Regions from separate parts of the Homo sapiens genome. Here region 1 is linked to region 2. The links are contacts of gene promoters, found by promoter capture Hi-C in blood cells and fetal thymus (Javierre and others, 2016). All regions are on one chromosome and are shown on one strand. Each heading gives the region's core, a stretch centred on a gene start or on the middle of the fragment in contact. The rest is flanking DNA. Distances are from core to core; before and after follow the strand shown. Region 1 overlaps PSKH1 (protein serine kinase H1). Region 2 holds the start of ESRP2 (epithelial splicing regulatory protein 2).

Region 1 (3,201 bases), core at 1-2,500, 310 kb before region 2:
GAGTGCAGTGGTGCGATCTTGGCTCACTGCAACCTCCGCCTCTCAGGTTCAAGCAATTCTCCTGCCTCAGCTTCCTGAGTAGCTGGGACTACAGGCACGCCACCACGCCCGACTAATTTTTGTATTTTTAGTAGAGACGGGGTTTCACCATGTTGGCCAGGATGGTCTTGATCTCATGACCTTGTGATCCACCTGCCTCAGCCTCCCAAAGTGCTGGGATTACAGGCATGAGCCACCACGCCTGGCCCTCAATATGAATCTTGAACTACACAAGCCCCCAGGAGACTTACCTGCCTGTCGGGGAGGGCTGTTGCTCTCTGCGCCCACCCACAGCCCTTGGATAGTAAGGCATCTATGGGCCTTCGTTGGCTGCATGCTCCTGGACCCTGACTTTCCTCCTCCTGGGGGCCAGCATCTCCCCAGGAGTCACTGGGTGCTGCTGGCCCACTGATGAGGATGACCCTGTTAGGTGTGTTTGGGAATATGGTTCCCCTGTTGCTCCCACTTCAGCTCAGTAAAACTTGGAATAACCTTCCAAAGAGTGGGTGAAGACAGCAGCTGCAGGTAGCCCCAGGCCTTCCTCAGGACGGTGGAAGCGTGTTCTCCCTGCCTCATCCCTCTGTGGCAGTGGGGAAGGGGGTAGGGAAAGAGTTGGAGGTCAGGCGAGCCAGACTGGGAGTAGCAGTAGTCAGTGAGTGTGTGTGTCTGCTAGATGGCTGTGCACCTGCCCTGAAGGTGGTCTCTCAGATCCTCCTGAACCCCCTGGAGGGCATGTTCAGGGGTTCCTCAAGGTGAAGGGTACCATGGGTGGTGAAGGGTACCATGGGTGGAACAGGCAGACCTCACCTGGCAGGAAGGAAAGTGAGGGGATCGTTAGCATCCCTGTTGAGTCATCTGCAGCAGGCTCAGGAAAGGTCCTAGCTGCCTATCCTTGGGGGAGCCTCAGAGCCCGTGCCAGAAGTGTTCCTAGGAGATGCAGGGACGCAAGGACTCACCTGGCTGAGCCCCAAGGCCTGGAAGCAGCTCCAGGAAAGGGCACCCATCCGGCAGCACCGTGGGTTGTTTACTGTCTGAGCCTGTGCCTACTGAGTGCTTCCTGTATGCGCAGCACCAGGCACGGGCTCATCCAGCTCAGCATGATCTCATGGGAATACTAAACGAACATGAAATTGCAGTCTCACGTTACAGCTGGAATAATTGCTGGAAGCACTGGGGGCTAAGAGGGAGTCTGAGCAAGTGTCCTTTACCCTGAGAACCTGAGGATCCAGTCAGGTGAAGACAGCCGTACAACCTGAGGCCCTGAGACAGACAGCTGCTGGGTTCGGGGCTGAGATGAGGCAGCCCGGGGTGCATGTGGCAGAGTGGGCTTTATGGAGTTCCTCCCAGGGGACAGAATGTACTAAAATGAGGCTGGCGCACAGCACTGCCAGGAGCCCTTTGTGGCTTAGAGAAGTAATGCGGGCCAGAGGGTGCCACTGAGAAGGGTCCTGGTTCCTTCCTGGTCCCGGGATCGCCTGCCCTCAGCCGACTGGGAAATCTAGTTGCCTTGAATTGTTTCCTTTCCTCCCCATGCCGGGAGGCAGAGGCAGGGAGCAGTGGTCTTCTGCCACTGCTTCGGCAGTTGGAGAGAGGTTGGATCTTCTCTGTAAGGACTAGGAAGTTCCCCTTTAAGTAGCCTGATCCTGGTCATCCAGAGATTGGAGCTTCAATCTGACTTAGGATGTGGTGGGAAAGTTTGAATCATTCTCTAACAGTCCCCTGAGTTATGATACTCCTGGGACAAGTTCGGGGGGGTCTTGGCAGAGGCCATCTCCCTGAGCCAGGCTTTGGGTCCAGTGCACCATAGAATTTGCTCCCTGGGAGAGTGCACAGGTCCTTTCCTTCCTTGCCAGACTCCATCACCTGGAGAGCAGCCCTTGTTCAGCCTGAGCCAGCGTTGGGCGGGGAGGCCCCAAGTGCTACATGAGAGGAGGGGCAGCACCTCTCTCTGGAAAGGGGAGGGTTGCTGAGTAGTGGCCTCATCCAGATGGGGTGGGCAGTGTCAGATGCTCTCACTCTAATGCTTGTCCTTGGTCTCTAGCCCTGGCCTAGTGTGTCCAACCTGGCCAAGGACTTCATTGACCGCCTGCTGACAGTGGACCCTGGAGCCCGTATGACTGCACTGCAGGCCCTGAGGCACCCGTGGGTGGTGAGCATGGCTGCCTCTTCATCCATGAAGAACCTGCACCGCTCCATATCCCAGAACCTCCTTAAACGTGCCTCCTCGCGCTGCCAGAGCACCAAATCTGCCCAGTCCACGCGTTCCAGCCGCTCCACACGCTCCAATAAGTCACGCCGTGTGCGGGAACGGGAGCTGCGGGAGCTCAACCTGCGCTACCAGCAGCAATACAATGGCTGAGCCGCCTGGCTGTGCACACATGCAGCACGACCCAGCCTGGCCACACACTGTGGTGCCATCTGGGTCCGATGCCCTCTCTGGAGATAGGCCTATGTGGCCCACAGTAGGTGAAGAATGTCTGGCTCCAGCCCTTTCTCTGTGCCTTCAGCAGCCCCTGTCCTCACCATGGGCCTGGGCCAGGTGTGACAGAGTAGAGGTAGCACAGGGGGCTGTGACTCCCCCTGAACTGGGAGCCTGGCCTGGCACTGATACCCCTCTTGGTGGGCAGCTGCTCTGGTGGAGTTGGGAAGGGATAGGACCTGGCCTTCACTGTCTCCCTTGCCCTTTGACTTTTCCCCAATCAAAGGGAACTGCAGTGCTGGGTGGAGTGTCCTGTGGCCTCAGGACCCTTTGGGACAGTTACTTCTGGGACCCCCTTTCCTCCACAGAGCCCTTCTCCCTGGTTTCACACATTCCCATGCATCCTGATCCTTAAGATTATGCTCCAGTGGGAGACCCTGGTAGGCACAAAGCTTGTGCCTTGACTGGACCCGTAGCCCCTGGCTAGGTCGAAACAGCCCTCCACCTCCCAGCCAAGATCTGTCTTCCTTCATGGTGCCTCCAGGGAGCCTTCCTGGTCCCAGGACCTCTGGTGGAGGGCCATGGCGTGGACCTTCACCCTTCTGGACTGTGTGGCCATGCTGGTCATCGGCTTGCCCAGGCTCCAGCCTCTCCAGATTCTGAGGGGTCTCAGCCCACCGCCCTTGGTGCCTTCTTTGTAGAGCCCACCGCTACCTCCCTCTCCCCGTTGGATGTCCATTCCA
Region 2 (3,056 bases), core at 23-2,522:
CCTTCTGGAACAGACAAGGAATCATCATCGTGGTGCCTCCTCATCAGGAACCACAAGAGTTGTTGGAAGATGAAAGAACGTGAGTGTATAAAAAGGACTTACACTAATTACACTCAAGAGTCAGACATAGAATGAGCGCCGTAGTGAAGATAAGGAAAAGAAAACAGCAATGGAAACCACCTCCCACTTCAGCTAGGGCAGGAGGCACCCCAGGCCTTTGCACTCAGCAGGCAGATAGTCCCCCAGGCCAGGCCGGGACAGCGCCCACGCCTGGCCAGCCGGCCGGGACAGGCCTAGACGAGCAGTTTACACCTGGCGGCGTCTACCTCTAGGGCCGACACCGCCCTACGCCTCCGCTCCAGCAGCTCCCAAGCAGGCCGAAGACGCGGGCCGCAAGGACAGGTGACCTATATGGGCCCCTCGACCCCTTTCGCTTCCGGCTGCGGCTCAGGGAGACCTGACCCAGCAGGTCTCCCAAAGGCGTCTCGGCCTCGCTCCCCGGGCGGGAACTGGGGATGGATCCCAAAGCCTGCGTCCCGATCCCTTCGGTAGGAGTAGGTTCCTGCAATGGTTGAAAAGTAAGGAGCCCAGGGGAATGGCTGGCACGCGCGGATGAAAGGGGCACGCACACGCGAGAGTCGCTCAAAGTTTCAAACAAGAGCCCAGTCCTGCCGCCTGGACCGGTTGGTTGCGGCACGCCAGGCCTAGCCTCCGGCCGCCAATCCCGCCCAGAAATGTCCTCACGTCCAGGCCATGCCGCCACCCACCCCGGCGCTCACCTGCTGCAGCACCTTGTCCAGCGGCTCTGCCCGCGCCAGGCTGTCGGCGCTCAGGCCGCTCGCCTCGCGGCACTGCGTACTCAGTGCGGCCGCCTCGGCACGAACCAGCGATTTGTGCAGCGTCCCCACCTGTGAGCGGCGGGGGAAACCGATCAGCCGCGCCCCTCGACCCCGGAAGCTCCCTGGGGACCTCACCGCCTCTTTTCCACCCTACCTGGCGGCTCCGCGGCTCAACCACTTGCCAAACTAGGAGGATTAAGTCGGTCTCGTCCGAGCCCAGGTCCCGTCCCAGCGCACCCGCCGTAGCCCCGAAGAGGACGACCAGTGATCCGGGCCAGGGGCAGGGGTCCGCGGCGGGGTCGGCCGCGGGGTCAGGGCCCGGGGGAGGGGGCGGCGGCGGCGGCGGAGTCATGGCCGCAGAGGAAGGGGGCTCTCGGCCAGACACGCGGACCGACGAGGCGCACGCACGCACCGACCGACCGCAGACGCGGATCAGCTTGGGCGGGACACCGTGTATCGGGGGCGGCACCTGCGGCCCGGCTGGCTCAGTGGGCGCTGCCAAGACCCGCCCGTGGCGCCCCGCGGGGCGGGGCGGCTACCGGCCCACGCCCTCTCCAGGCGAGTTACCTGCCGGCCCCGCCGGCCACGTGACCGGGGCGGCTCCGGGAACCTTGGGGGAGGGCCGCCAGAACTCAACCCAGGACGCAAGAGCTCACGCTCCCGGCCTGGGCGCACGCTTAGGATCCGGATTCCTACTTCCAGGGCTGGTCCTGCCTGATTTTGGGGGCTAACCCATTCTTCCGCTCTCCCCCCACTCTTCCCCAGGGGTCGTCAGGCCTCTGCAAAGGAGCGTGCAAGACAGAGGCCTTCTCCAGTATGGAAGTCACCAGGAGGCAGTCTAGGGGCTGTGGGGGTCAACACGGCAGGTCTGGGGTTGATGGAAGTCAAAGGGTCAAGGGGGCGGTGAGAGTTGCCGGGTATCACCCTGTAGGGGGATCACCAGAAGTCACCTGGGAAAGGGGAGGGCGGCGGGAACATCAGCGTTGTTAGAGCTGTGGGGTGGTCACCAGGGATCACAGGGAAGGGCTTGTCCACGCAGATGCTAGGGCCGAGCGCTAGCCTGGCACTGAGAAGTGCCAGAGCGCGGTCGTTGTGGGTTGGGAGTGGGCAGGCCTCAATGCTGGGGAAAGGAACCCCCCAAATCGCAGAGAGCTGCACCCTAGACGAGGCTGAGAGGGGTAGAACGGGCCTGGAGCCTCACTCCTACCCCACGTGTGGGGGCCTGCCTGCTTTCGTCCCTTTCTGGACGGTGGAGAAGCTGCCTGGAGATTGCGAGCGCTCTGGCCGATGGGGGGCTAGCGTTGAGCGTGTGTGCGCGCATGCGGGCTGCAGATCCTCCCTTTTCCATCCCGCACCTACAACCCAATTGACAGCCCCGCATTTGGGGCTCCCATTCCTCCCTTTGCCCAGTGGAGCTTGGTGAGGCTCCTTTATGGCGCGTTTCCCGGCCGTTCCTTACTTTCCCAAACTCTCCCAGGGAGGTGACTGAGAAACTGAATAAGTGACTGAGAAACTGAATAATCCAGCAGGAAGGAGGGGGCTCCAGCGTGGCGGGAACTGAGTCACGCGGTTGCCTAGCCCGACTCGAGACTGAGACGGGAGCCGCACCACGCGCTTTCGGACAAGGAGGGTGCTGCGGCCCGGCCCCTGGACAATGGAGAGAGCGGGGCACCCGGGCGCATCACCAGAGCTCATGCCCGGGAAAGGGGCGAGGCCCGGGGGGAGAGAGCTCAGCGTAGCTCCACTTGGCAGCTAAAGAAACAGGCGCCCGGGACGGAAATGACTCGCGCCCGGACACGGCGACAGGGAGAGCATGGGAAGTGCTTCCTTCGCCCGGCGGGTTCGAGCGAGTAGCACTTTACTTTCCCTACAGGTGGAGGCGGGCCTTGGTGCGCGGCTGTCCATCTCCGGACCGCCCACCCGGGCACTGGCCCATGCGTCTCCTCCCCCGGAAGCGGTAAGCGAATCAGGCGCGGGGGAAGGGAGAACGTTGCTCCTCGGGCCCCTCCTCCCGATAAGCCTGGAATGTCAAATATTTGTTCGCGGGGCGGGGCGCAACCGCGAGTAACGCTCCTCCCCCTCCCGCCCGGTAGGGCGCCTGCGCTTGGTGGAGGCGGCCCTTCCTCCGGCCACGCCCTTCCAGCCAACTCCCCTAAACCAGTGGCCCTAACCGCCGCATTCCTAAAGCTCCACAGAAGCACGTCGCTTCCTCCTTGG

Evidence for each region. The method cuts DNA at HindIII sites, captures the fragments that hold promoters and counts their contacts. A CHiCAGO score of 5 or more calls a contact.
Region 1: a contact is called between a fragment that was not itself captured here and the fragment with the promoter of ESRP2 in region 2, in 2 of 17 cell types (fetal thymus and megakaryocytes). The highest score is 5.6, in fetal thymus.

Annotation. Positions count from the first base shown.
Region 1 is chr16:67,925,245-67,928,445 of GRCh38, forward strand. It overlaps PSKH1 (protein serine kinase H1), which reads left to right. Exons shown (of 3, transcript NM_006742.3): 3 at 2,081-3,201. The coding sequence ends at 2,398. Among named protein-coding and RNA genes, the nearest start is that of CTRL, 5.0 kb to the right of the region's middle. RefSeq lists an enhancer at 1,728-2,229. The HindIII fragment of the contact is 3,315 bases long and covers 1-2,908 here.
Region 2 is chr16:68,234,855-68,237,910 of GRCh38, forward strand. It overlaps ESRP2 (epithelial splicing regulatory protein 2), which reads right to left and starts at 1,273. Exons shown (of 15, transcript NM_024939.3): 1 at 994-1,273; 2 at 780-908. The coding sequence starts at 1,191. RefSeq lists silencers at 1,221-1,450, 2,761-2,850, 2,881-2,980 and enhancers at 1,472-2,060, 2,061-2,648, 2,649-3,056. The HindIII fragment of the contact is 18,011 bases long and covers 1-3,056 here.